2 separate regions of the Homo sapiens genome follow, and region 1 is linked to region 2. Evidence: promoter capture Hi-C in human tissues and cell types (Jung and others, 2019). All regions are on one chromosome and are shown on one strand. Each heading gives the region's core, a stretch centred on a gene start or on the middle of the fragment in contact. The rest is flanking DNA. Distances are from core to core; before and after follow the strand shown. Region 1 has its middle 150 kb from the start of TENT5A. Region 2 holds the start of SH3BGRL2 (SH3 domain binding glutamate rich protein like 2).

What was found. Contacts are between HindIII fragments. The study calls those that stand out against the background at their distance.
Region 1: a fragment that was not itself captured here is called in contact with the fragment with the promoter of SH3BGRL2 in region 2 in 1 of the 25 tissues and cell types used here (dorsolateral prefrontal cortex).

Annotation. Positions count from the first base shown.
Region 1 is chr6:81,598,076-81,604,888 of GRCh38, forward strand. No RefSeq gene overlaps it. Among named protein-coding and RNA genes, the nearest start is that of TENT5A, 150 kb to the right of the region's middle. The HindIII fragment of the contact is 3,364 bases long and covers 1-3,191 here.
Region 2 is chr6:79,628,356-79,635,546 of GRCh38, forward strand. SH3BGRL2 (SH3 domain binding glutamate rich protein like 2) reads left to right here and starts at 2,974. Exons shown (of 4, transcript NM_031469.4): 1 at 2,974-3,151. The coding sequence starts at 3,107. The HindIII fragment of the contact is 5,139 bases long and covers 2,408-7,191 here.

The sequences.
Region 1 (6,813 bases), core at 260-2,759, 2.0 Mb after region 2:
CCCTGGCCATATACTATAGATGTTCACCTATCCCCACAATATGATACTGTATAATACATAATCTGGAATTTTCCTAGAGTTGTTACTGAAGTATTAACTTTGTCTCAATTAACATATAACCTTCCTACCAGCAGGAACGATGCCTTTTAATTTTCTGGTATCCATAATAATGCTTAACAGAATGTTAAGACACACATAATGCATGATATATGTTTTTAAACTGAAAAACAAATAATCATAATTCTGATGAAGTAATATGAGATAATATAAAAGCAAAGCTAGAACTATGAAATAAATCAACTTAGCTATTTGAACAGAGATGAAAAACAAACAGTCATTCTAGAAGAGAAAGATCACTTCAAATTCTTCATACTGCTAATCCCATTCTCTGGAGACTGAGAATTCATCTTTTGGCAGCGCAAATAAGCTGAAAAAATTGTAAAGAACAGGCCCACATATCTCATTAATTAATTACAGTTGCATAAGCTTTTATTGGTCCAACCACCTCCTGTTTAATTTTCCTGCAGGCCCTTGCAGTACAGAAAAGTGATGCTTTACCTAAAAAATACATTTCTTTGAGGTTGTTCTCATTTTACAAATAAGAGAAATCAAATGTCCTCATCAAAGTCCCCCAGCTAGTAGAATAGTATAACAGGGACTCGGCCCTAGGTTTACCTGGCTTCAAAACCTGTCTTTTTCCCACTGTACTTTTCTGTCTTCCTAGAATAAAATTTAAAATAAGTGGTGGGGATTCAGGTAAAACTGACCTGTGCTATTGCTATAATTTATTGAGCACAAAAACTTCACCAAAGAAATAATGGCTGCATGAAGCTGAAATGAGAAAAAAATAATTCCTCTCTTGCTATATGTTTTTGTAGAATTTGAAGTACTCACATGAAAGTACCTGTAATATGTTGTAGTTCTCCAATACCCTTGAGATGAACATGTGAGCAGGTTTTTTATCATCCAAGTGTAGCCTCTTCTCTAGGAGCCAAGCAAGGCAGAGAAGTGCCCAGTGTGAGCTCAAGGCTCTGCAGATGAAGTCCATGAACCAGGTGAAGGGGGTACTTAAAGCAAGGGAAAGTCCAAAGCATCAAGTCCAAAGGGAAGTAGATGGAAGACAACTATCAGATTAAAGCCAAAGGGACTCTGGACCTCAGTTTCCTTATCTGTGACATGAAGATGATAAGAGATTTAGTGATTAAAAGAAAGACTGTATGTAAAACACATAAAATAATGACCTGATCAATAATTCTTAGCTATTACATTGACACAGAACAGGCAAGGTTTAATAAATGGAATTCAGAAGTCAAGGCTAGAAAATCTCAGAAACAGGATTTGTGTAAAGGCACAAGACTGAAAAGGCAGTTCAAGATGACAGAGAAAAAGAAAAACAGCATTACTTTGCAATGTCAGTGCAAAAGATGAGAGCAGTCTTTATCCCTGTCATTCTGACTCTCCTCCCCATGCATATCCAAGCAAGCTTCAGAAGTAGCATCACTCCCTTGATAAGTTGCCTAACCCTAATCAGTGCTATTAACAGAAATTACACTAAAATTTTACCCATAATAGCTAACACTGAGTGAGTTGTTCCAAACAGAAATTTTAAGAGTCAGCTCATAACTGACCAGGTTCTCTTCCTCTCTCTGATGACCATGGATGCACGTATGGCAGTGGAGCCCCCATAAGCCTGGGCCCTTGAGTGGCCATGATGTGCAGAGTCCCCCTGCAGACTGCAACATTCATGCCACATACACTGAGAAATAAGCTTCTGTTGTTATAAACCACTTAAATGTGGGATTGCTTATTACTGTAGAATATTCTAGTGGAGGGATTCTCAAAATGTGGTCCTGAACCAGCAGCATCGGCATCACTGGAAAACTTACTAGAAAGGCCAGTTCTTGGATTTCACCTTAGAAGTACTGAATCAGAAAGTCTGGGGATGGGGCTCAGACACCTGATTTTTCAAAGTTTTACTTAATTTTTAACTAACAAATAATACTTGTGTATATTTATGAGATACAGTGCAATGTTTGAAACGTATACATTGTAAAATGATCAAATCAGGAATAATTAGCATATTCATCATTTCAAATATTTGTCATTTAATTGTGATGAGAACATTTAAAATCCTCTGTTTTAGAAGATTGAAGCTTCTTCTTTATACCATATACAAAAATCAACTCAAGATGGATTAAAAGACTTAAATGTAAAACTCAAATCTATAAAATCCCGGAAGACAACCTAGGCAATACCATCCTGGACACAGGAATGGGCAAAGATTTCATGACAAAGACACCAAAAGCAATCACAACAAAACCAAAAATTGACAAGTAGGATTTAATTGAACTTAAGAGCTTCTAAACAACCCCATAAAAATGTGGACAAAGGACATGAACGGACACTTTTTAAAAGACGACATACATGTGGCCAACAAACATATGAAAAAAATCACTGTTCACTTAATATCACTGTTCATTAGAGAAATGCAAATCAAAACCACAATGAGATGCCATTTCACATGAATCAGAATGGTTACTATTAAAATGTCAAAAAAATAACAGATGCTGGTGAGGTTGCAGAGAAAAGGGAACACTTATACACTATTGGTGGGAGTGTAAATTAGTTCAACCCTTGTGGAAAGCAGTATGGCAATTCCCCAAAGAGTCAAAAGCAGAACTATCATTTGACCCAGCAATCCCATTACTGGGTATATACCCAGAGGAATGTAAATCACTCTACCGTAAAGACACATGCATGCGAATGTTCGTTACAGCACTATTAACAATAGCAAAGACTTGGAATCAACCTAAATGCCCACTGATGAGAGATTGGATAAAGAAAATGTGGTACATGTACATCATGGAATACTATATGCCATAAAAAAGAACAAGATCATTTCTCATGCAGGAACATAGATGGAGCTGGAGGCTATCATCCTCAGCAAACTAATTCAGGAAGAGAAAACCAAATACCATGTGTTCTTACTTATAAGCAGGAGCTAAATGATGACAACTTATGAACACCAAGAAGGGAATGACAAACACTGGGGTATACTTGAGGGTGGAAGGTGAGAGGAGGGAGGGGAGGAGAAAAGGTAACTATTGGGTATTGGGCTTAATTCCTGGGTGATGAAATAATCTGTACAACAAACACCTGTGACATGAGTTTACCTGTGTAACAAGCCTTCACATGTACCCCTGAACATAAAATAAAAGTTAAAAAAAATAAATAGTAAAACCTATCTTACATGAGAAAATCATAAAATAAGGTCTTCTATTTTAGCTATTTTGAAATATACATTAACTATAGTCACCATACTTTGCAATAAATCACCAGAACTTATTCCTTGTATCTAATTGAACCTTTGTATCCTTTGATCAATATCTCCTCTTTTCCCCAAGCTCCTGGTAACCACCATTTTACTCTCTACTTCTATGAGTTTGATTTATTAAAATTTCACATATATATATAAAATCATATAGTATTTGTCTCTTTGTGCCTGGCTTATTTCACTTAGCATAATATCCTCTAGTTTCACCCCTACCTTCCTGAATGACAGGATTTTCTGCTTTTTAAAGGTTGAGTAATATTCTATTGTATATGTACACATCACTTTTTTTAATTGATTCATCTGTTAATGGGCACTTTAGTTATCTTCATTTGGCTATTGTGAATAGTGTTACAATGAATATACAAATGTAGTCAACTCTTTAACATATTGGCTTTATTTCTTTGGATATATTCTCAAAAGGGAGATTGCCGGATTATATGTTAACTCTATTTTTAGTTTTTTGAGGAAGCTCCACATCATTTTCCAAAATGGTGATATTAATTCGCAACACTGCCAACGGTGCACAATGGTTCCTATTTCTCCACATTCTCACCAGCACTTGCTTTCTTTATTCTTTTTGTTCGTAGCTAATCTAACAGGTATGATGTGTTACCTCATTGTGCTTTTAATTTGCATTTATCTGATGATTAGAAATGTTGAGCACCTTTTCATACACCTGTTGGCCATTTTTTTTGAAAAATGTCTATTCAGGGTTTTTTTGTCCATTTTTAATTGCATAATTTTTGTTTTGTTTTGTCTTATTTTGGTTTTTGCTAGAGTTGAATTTCTTGTACATTTTGAATATTAACCACTTTTTCAATGTATGATTTGCAAATATGTTCTCCCAATATGTGAATCACTTCTTCACTCAGTTGTTTCCCCTGATGTGCAAAAGCTTTTGAGTTTAGTGCAATCCCATCTGTCAGATACCTGTGTTTTTTTATTTTTTTTATTTTTATTTTTATCTTACTTTAACTTCCAGGATACATGTGCAGAATGTGCAGATTTGTTACATAGGTATATGTGTGCCATAGTGGTTTGCTGCATCTATTGACCTGTCATCTAGGTTCCCTCCCTGTGCCCCCTACCCCTCAACAGGCCCCAGTATGTGTTGTTCCCCTCCCTGTGTCCGTGTGTTCTCATTGTTCAACTCCCACTTATAAGTGAGACCATGAAGTGTCTGGTTTTCTGTTCCTGTGTTAGTTTGCTGAGAATGGTGGCTTCTAGCTTCATCCATGTCCCTGCAAGGGATATGATCTCATTCCTTTTTATGGCTGCATAGTATTCCATGGTTTATAGGCATCACATTTTCTTTATCCAGTCTATCATTGATGGGCATTTGGGCTGGTTTCATGTCTTTGTTATAGTGAATGTAAATAAACATACATGTGCATGTGTCTTAATAGTAGAATAATTTATATTCCTTTGGGTATATACCCAGTAATGGAACTGCTGGGTCAAATGTTTTTCTGGTTCTAGATCCTTGAGGAATCACCACGCTGTCCCACTGACACCACAGAAATACAAACCACCATCAGAGAATGCTATAAACACCTCTATGCAAATAAACTAGAAAATCTAGAAGAAATGGATAAATTCCTGGACACATACACCCTCTCAAGACTAAACCAGGAAGAAATCGAATCCCTGATTAGACCAATAACAAGGTCTGAAATTGAGGCAGTAATTAATAGCCTACCAACCAAAAAACTCCCAGGACCAGATGGATTCACAGCTGAATTCTAACAGAGGCACAAAGAGGAGCTGGTACCATTCCGTCTGAAATCATTCCAAGCAATTGAAAAGGAGGGACTCCTCCCTAACTCATTTTATGAGGCCAGCATCATCCTGATACCAAAACCTGGCAGAGACACAACAAAAAAAGAAAACTTCAGGCCAATATCCCTGATGAACATCTATGCAAAAATCTTCAATAAAATACTGGCAAACCAAATCCAGCAGCACATCAAAGAACTTATTCACCACAATCAAGCGGGCTCCATCCCTTGGAAGCAAGGCTGGTTCAACATATGCAAATCAATAAACATAATCCATAACATAAACAGAAGACAAAAACCACATGATTATCTCAACAGATGCAGAAAAGGCCTTTGATAAAATTCAACATCCCTTCATGTTAAAAACTCAATAAACTGGGTATTTGGGCATGGTGGGTCATGCCTGTAATCCCAGCATTTTGGGAGGCCCAGGCGGGCAGATGACAAGGTCAGGAGATCAAGACCATCCTGGCTAACATGGTGAAACCCTGACTCTACTAAAAATACAAAAACAAAAAGAAATGATCTAGACATGGTGGCAGGCTCCTGTAGTCCCAGCTACTCAGTAGGCTGAGGCAGGAGAATGGCATGAACCTGGGAGGCAGAGTTTGCAGTGAGCCGAGATCGTGCCACTGCACTCCAGCCTGGGAGACAGAGCAAGATTCTGTCTCAAAAAAAAAAAAAAAAAAAAAACAAAAAAACAAACAAAAAAAAACCTCAATATACTGGGTAGTGATGAAACATATGAGCTGTTTATGACAAATCCACAGCCAATATCACATTGAATCGGCAAAAGCTGGAAGCATTCCCTTTGAAAACCAGTACAAGACAAGGATGCCCTTTCTCACCACTCCTATTCAACGTAGTATTGGAAGTTCTGGCCAGGGCAGTCAGGCAAGAGAAAGAAATCAAGAGTATTCAAATAGAAAGAGAAGAAGTGAAATTGTCTTTGTTTGCAGACGACATGATTCTATATTTAGAAAACCTCATCGTATCAGCCCAAAACTTAAGCTGATAAACAACTTCAGCAAAGTCTCAGGATACAAAGTCAATGTGCAAAAATCACAAGCATTCATATACACCAACAATTGACAAGCAGAGATCCAAATCATAAATGAACTCCCATTCACAATTGCTACAAAGATAATAAAATACCTAGGAATACAGCTAACAAGGGATGTGAAGGACTTCTTCAAGGAGAACTTCAAACCACTGTTCAAGGAAATAAGAGAGAACACAAACAAATAGAAAAACATTCCATCCTCATGGATAGGAACAATCAATATCATGAAAATGGCCATACCTCCCAAAATAATTTATAGATTCCATGCTATTCCCATTAAACTACCATTGACATTCTTCACATAATTAGAAAAAACTACTTTAAATTTCACATGGAACCAAAGAAGAGCCCGTATAGCCAAAACAGTCCTAAGCATAAAGAACAAAGCTGGAGGCCATCATGCTACCTGACTTCAAACTATACTACAAGGCTACAGTAAGCAAATCAGCATGGTACTGATACCAAAACAGACATATAGACCAATGGAACAGAAAAGGGAGCTCAGAAATAACACCAGACATCTACAACCATCTGATCTTTGACAAATCTGACAAAAACAAGCAATGGAGAAAGCATTTCCTGTTCAATAATTGGTGCTGGGAAAACTGGCTAGCCATATGTAGAAAACTGAAACTGAA
Region 2 (7,191 bases), core at 1,724-4,223:
AAAAAAGGTCAAGAACCCCTACTTTAAAACATTCTAGCCATATGGTCTACCAGGACTTGTAAAGGGGATAAAGTCCTAGGCAACATGGGAGCCACTTTCTTCAAGCCTAATGACCTGCTCAATTTTCTTAGTCTCATCTTTCAGTTTTGGCTACCCGCTCTATCTGTAGACCTTATTTGTCAGATTGGCATCTAATACTCTCTGTGGTCTGATAAGCTGGTGTTGATCTTGGACCTCTATCTTATATCCTAGATTGCATTCTGCTCTCAGGTACTCTTCCACTTTGTTTACCAACTCTGGGTCTCAACTCCATACCGGCCTTGCTGTTTTACTGGATTGCTAACATATTTTCTCCTGCATACAAGGTCAAAAGGTGAACCTTTTCATTCAGGGTGGAAAAAATAGAGGATTCTTCTTGAAGTATAATTCTGATTATATCCTTCTGTTCCTCAGAATGCATTTGGACACAGAGCGCTTATGAATTTCTCAGGGCACTTTTGGTTCCATGAAACAAAACCTATTTCAGGTGGCTTAAGCAAGATGAGGAACTTACAGATATAGGGATATTACACAGCCCTCAAGAGCAGGGATATAGGAACAGGTTGAACAGGATCAGAGATTGGCAAACTTTTTCTGTAAAGGCCAGATGTAAATGTATTAGGCTTTGTGGGCCATACGACCTCTGTCAGTCTACCATAGACAATACCAAGAGGAATGTGTTCCAATAAAACTTTATTTACAAAGCAGGTAGCCACGTGCATTTGACATACAGGTCATAGTTTGAGGACCCTTAGATTACAGTATTGTCAGGACTCTTTCTAAAACTTAGAGCTATTATCTCCAACTCTTTTTTACAAATTCTCTGTTGTTCTCTTTCTACTGACTAGCTTCTTCAGCTTCTCTGATTCTCATGTTGGAAGCTCTGAGCTTCCATGTCACAAATTCAAGCTCTCTTGTTTTCCCAGTTCCAATTCTGAATCTTTAGGGTAGAAATGTTGCTTGGCCTTGCTTGGCTTAGGTGCTCACTCCTAGATCAATAAGCTGTGGTCAGAGGGTTAGGCCCTGCTGTATGTACAGGGCTTGGGGGACCCTTACAACCTCTAGGATCAGAGGAAAGGAGCAGAAATCCCAAGGAGCTGAGCAGATAACCCAGTGAGAAAGTCCTTTGTTGGCATTCATTCAAACCTACTTTTTCAGCATTGTCCTCTACTAGTTCCCTCATATTCCTTTCTGAAGCAAAACCAACTCCTTGCTGTTCTCCTCACACACCCTGAATAGTCTCACCCTGCATCCTCCCTATCTGCAGACAGAAATTCTACTCATCTTTAAAGTACCTTCTATGGCCACCTTTTTCCTTTACATCCACACAACACTGTATTAGTACAGTGTGTCTTGTTCTGTCACTATTTCTGTATCTGTCTTTTTCTTTCCTAGACAATAGGTGCTCTGCTGACAGAGAAATGACTCGTTCAACTTTTTATCCATTCTTGTACCTTTCACAGAGTAGGCTCTGAGTTCCAATTATTTGAGTTTAACTATATCTTCATAGCTGAATAATTCCAAACTGAAGAAAATGCTGACTTTTATAAAGATTTGCATTTATATAGGAAATACGGTATCTACTTTTAAGAAAATTATTTTCTATTTTATAAACGTGCATTTCCACATTTATGGTAGCAAAATTAAAGTACATTTGCCGAGAGATACTAAAGACAGCAAAACTTCTATTTAAAATTTTAAACACGAAGAAGAAATAAAGTCCCATTAGGAGTGTCTCTTCTATTATTGAAGGAAATTTAAAAAGATTCCTACTACAGAAATGGCTTTAAGAAAAGCAATAGGAAAGGTTATAAATTTGAAATATTCATAACTGTTCTAAAAAATACTTCATAATGATTGCTCTTTGTGCAAGAAATGTATCAAAGAGCCAGAGACCTCATCATCTAATTTCTTACTTTTTCTTAATTAACATTGTTCCCAGACCTCTGCTAAACTCCCGTGTTGAAAGGAAAAAAGTAAATACAGTACAGCAGGGAAAACTGGTTCCTTTCGACAAAACTGAGAGAGAGGCTTGAGCTTTTGTCAAACAGAAAGCACTTGATAAAAAACTATTCCTAAACTATTAGCAACTATATAGAAGCTTTTTATTTAACAGCATCCTCCTGGGAAACTGCGCTGGAATGTGCAGCGGTTCTGAAAAAGGCACAGATTTGGCTGAACTGTAAATATTAGGTGCACAGAGGCGAAGCCATTGTGTAGGGAGGGGTGGGGCAGGTAGGGTCCTGATTTCCAATGTTGATAGAAGGATTCCAATTTCGTTTGGTATTTATTTTTTTCTACTACAATTACAGTTTTGCTGAGAAAAATAAAATATTGGTTGTGCTTCCATCTGGGTTTCTAATTTTCAGTGTGTACAGACAAGAGAAGACCTCTCATTTACCCAAAAGAATCACCTTTCTGCAATCTCCAGTGCTACTGGACAAACAAACGAGCCCAACCCCACCGCCCACACCTCCCAAGCACCCGGCTCGCCGATCCCGCCTGCTTCAGGTAGCTGGGGTTTGCCCGGTACGCCAGCGGCCCTGAGACGATGTGTGCCCGCAGCACGATCGTGTCTGTTGGCATTTCTGGGTGTGGATGCTCCAAACCAATAAACCACAATACAGAACCCAAGCTTGGACTTTGAACCGAGCCCTTTTGCCTAGTTTGCTTTTTCCTCATCAAGCCAGGATCCTTGCCAACCCACCTCACAGCTTCTGCCCGGGCTGTGGCTCCCCTCCAGCCACCTGCGCGTGTTCGGGATAGAAGCGCGGTCAGGAGGGGAGCTCAGTCCACCAGCCACTCCAGGGAGAGACGGAAACTACAAATCCCATCAAGCCCCGCAGCCGGCTCCCTCCTCCTCCCTCTCCTTCCCCTTCAGCCTGCGGCCGGGCGGCGCTGGGCTTTTATCTGCGGACCCGCCGGGAGGGAGCCAGATCCCAGCGATCTTCCCCGACGGCAGCGCTTTACCCAGAGGCTGCCGGCGGCTCGTAGCTGGGTTCAGCTCTGCGTCCACGCCAGCCCGGAGCCCGGGGGGCAAGGGGTCTGTCCCGGGCGCAGCGAGAGGATGGTCATCCGCGTGTTCATCGCCTCTTCCTCGGGCTTCGTGGCGGTGAGCGCGGTGGGGGCGGGCAGTAGGTTGGGGTCGCGGGGCGCGGGTCCTGCGGGAGGCGCGCGGCGCTCGTCACTGCGCGTCCTTGCGCTCAGCCGGTCCGCCCGCGGGAGCCCGCGCCCGGCAGGTGATCCATCACACTCCGACAACAATGAAGAGGGCGGGGAGGAAAGGTGGGTGGGGGACCCCGGCCTCACCCAAATGCCCACCCTGCGTGGCCTGAAAGGCAGACAACGCGGCCTGAAAATGGAGTCCGAGGGAAGCCCCCAGCTCCTGTTGTGTGGCATGGAAATTTGGGGAACGGGTTGTTCAAGAGCTTCGGGGATCCCCCTTCCCCTAGTTTAGTTCTTCCCGATTTGGGACCTTCAGACTGGTTATGTTTTGCACGGGAGCCTTTTCTGCTGCTTTGGTTTGTTACCCTAGCTCCTGAATGAAGCAAGTTTAAGTGGGAATTGCTCTCTGTCCTCCCTTCCCCGCCAGCAAGTGCATTTGTTTAGTTTTATACCTGCGCAAAGAGAATAGTAAAACTAGGTTTGTCCTGTTGTGGTAGGATTGTTTGCTTTCACTGTCATTTTTTTTCTTAGGGTGCCATAAATATTTTTACATCTTTATGTAAATGTGTGTGTATGCACGCATTTTCTTTCCACCTGTAATGCTGTGGAAATTTTATCCTGGGGATCTATGAATTGTGGTTTTCTATTTAATTATTTTTAGCTATTCTCTTTGGTGGATGTTCTTGAATTTTTTTAGAGAAAAAAAATTTTTTTAAAGAAAGGAAAGTTAAATAGCTAGAGATGTCAGAATTTAAGGAAAATTCAGTAGTTAGTATATTTGACAGCCCACTAAGGGACATAGCACATGTGTTTTACATGATTATTGAGACTTGGTTTCCTTAACCAAGAGTTCAGCTATAGATTTAAGAGCCTCCTTTGTGACATATATAATCAAGTAACATCAAAAAGTGCATTGTAGATTGCTTAAATTTGGTCTGGTCAATTGTCTGCCCAGTAGCTCAGTCAGATTGTTCCAAAATTTGTTTCTTAAGTGGGTGGAGTGGAGGATGGAATAAAATATTGTTTGAAAATCCTTGTACACCACTGAAGTTTTTTATTTAAAAAGAAACCAACACGATCATACAAAGCCCCTCCACCCCCATTTGCACTAGAAACAATAGATGGGAAAATCCAACTTACACTTATGTGCAGTCATGTTGGGGTCCTCAGACTTCTGACAGTTTCTGGTGTTTCTAGCTATTTGGGTTGCTTAGTCATGCCTGCCTTTTGTAGATTTCCCCACTGAAGCCACACTTCATGTGTTTGCAAACTGGCACTGTTTCAAGGGTAGATTTGTTCAAATGCACTCCTTACTAAGAATGCTACAAAGCTCTTGGTTTCACCACCGACTTGCATGCTTCAATAATTGTCCCAATAGCATTATATTGATTATGGAAGGAATGGTTTTTATCCCTTCCACAAGAGATAAAGCCTAGGCTACTTTGGAGCAAGTCGGACCAAGTCAAGGTAATGACTTGGCTTACTCTATTAGTAGGTAGTATATTGAGATAGTTTTGGTACTCCACATCTTTGTTTTTTCAGTGCCATTGGCAAATATTTATTGCCTGCCTGCTGTGTGCCTTTTTAACTTTTAAATTTAATGTTTTGTGTTTTGCACATGGAGCTAAAATTAAGAGACTTAAGTTTTAGTGTGGGCCCCAACTAGTGCAGTGTAAGCCTGGTTAAGGTACCTCATCTCTGCCTGAGTTTCTCTTCTGTAAAATGAAGGATTTTCATGGATAACTCAGAATTGCACACTCTAGCTTTAAAGTATTTTGACTTCACCAGGTGAGTAAATATGGATGAATCCTTATAACAGCTTCTTTTGCTTGAACAATATACCTACCTATTAGTCTCAAGGTAATAGGTATACCTATACCTATTAGTATAATACCTATTAGTATAATAATATACCTATTAGTCTTCTTTCCTTGGACATTTTATTGTGAAGGCTCAGATCCCCTCAATGCCCTGCCTCGTAGCATGTGTTCTGACATGGTTTCATTTGAGTTAGAAGACATACACAGTTACCACATGCTTACAGACTATAAACACTAATTATCTATTTTAATATTCTGCTGTTTGAAGACCCAGTCTTTTCAGGTTTTAGAAAATCCTTGTTTGTTCAGTCTCCTCAATTATATCTTATATCAATACAGTTATTCATTGAGTCTCCCCAATTGTAGTTTTATCTCCTATATCAGTACACAGTTTATCTGTAATATCCATACTTTTAGTGATGTTAAGGTTATGTTCATATGTAAGAATAATGATTTCTAAGAACCAGTGAGGATATTTAGGTCAATTCTTGGGCTGGCGAGGCTAATGGGGCCAGTAGCATTAAGCTATATTAAGCTTTAGTGGCGTAGCCATGATGTGTTCCCTCCAGAAGTGTTGGGTTGACTGTTGATAGTGTTTCATTTGGTACCCAACTGTGACGAGCAAGTGCATGGGAGAACAAATAATTTGATTCTTGAGTCAGTTTGGTTTTAGCTGAAGTTTATTAAACCACAAGGAAGGGATGTGACCAGAATTAGACTTAGCCAAGTAAGTCCCAGAATTTCCAAAAAGATGCTCCGCTTCAATCATCAATAGATTTAAACAATCTATTTAGAGAAAATCATCCTGTTTTCTTCTGATTCCCCTAAGCTCTCCAGCTTCAGCAGTTGGAATAACTAACACCAAGGAATGATTCCTCTTTTGTCTTCCCTGGCTCCAGGTGAAGTCAGTTTTTACTAGGAAACAAAAGCAATGCCACATTATTATGCTACAGATACCTGAAAAATCGGATTTCTTATTCAACTGACCATGTTGCTACTCATTCACATTGTATTGTAGGGAAATTTTTTGTTCTCAGTTCTAAGAAAATAATATATTCATAGAAATGTCATTTTAAAATTTAATTTATTCTGGATGTATTCCTGAAAGGGGAAGTCTTAGTAACTTTGTCCAGGAAATATGTGAATATGACTTTTTACTTTAAAAACATTGAAATCCGTCAATTATTTCATTTATTCCGTCAGTCAGTTATTTCATTTACTCATTCAACAAGTATTTTCTAAGAGTCTGCTGCTTGCCTAGCTCTGTCCTTGGTCTTCTGGGAAGCCAGAGAATAGAGGGTGTGATCTGTGTCTCCAAGGAATTCACAGGTAGGAGATGAGTTAGGAAAGGTAGTAAAGTACAGCCTAAGGACACATGCTTCTTGCAGGAACATTCTTACCAGAGATAGAAAAATATAGGAGGCAGAGAGATGCATTGCAGGATGTCAGATAAAGAGGAAATGTGCCAGAAATCATAAAATATGCATGTGACAGCCTTAGGCAGATGGCAGGGAGAGGAACTGGGTTGGATTTGGAGCCTGGGAGAGAGTTCTTGAGCCCATCCTGCTCAAGCTGGAAAGGGGGAGCTTTGGGTGGGACAGGGTAGACTCCTGAAAGAAGACTGAAAGAAGCCCATGGTGACAAACTCTGTAGTGCTTAGCATCTCAGAGATGTCTTTAGTTTCTGCAGCTTGTCTGCTGCCTGGAGCCTTTTGTTTCTCAGGGAACATGGAGCTGCCTGGCAGTGGGGGAGCCCTAGTTGTGTGATTTCAGAAGAATCTTTACCTTCCTACTTGCCTTGACTAACATTTCTCAAAATGTAAATAAAATCTTTTACTCCTCATTAAAGTTCCTGGGCTCTGTTAGAGTTGGACGGAAACCTAAAGATATTTTTAGTGAAGCCCAACCACCTAATTTTTTGGAAAAGGAAATTTAGGCATAGAGATTAAGTGGCTTTTCCGGAAGCCATTTATGTCCAGTCAGTGCAGAGCTGAGATTTCATAGGAAGCCAGATTCCTGATGTCTGAATGCATTCATTCTTGCATTGAATGACTCATATATTCATCAGACAATCACTGAAAACTTACTTACCCAGGTTCTGTATTAGGTGATGTAAGGTGCTAGGTGTATATGATGGTCAGAACAGACATGTACTCTGCCCTCATGGC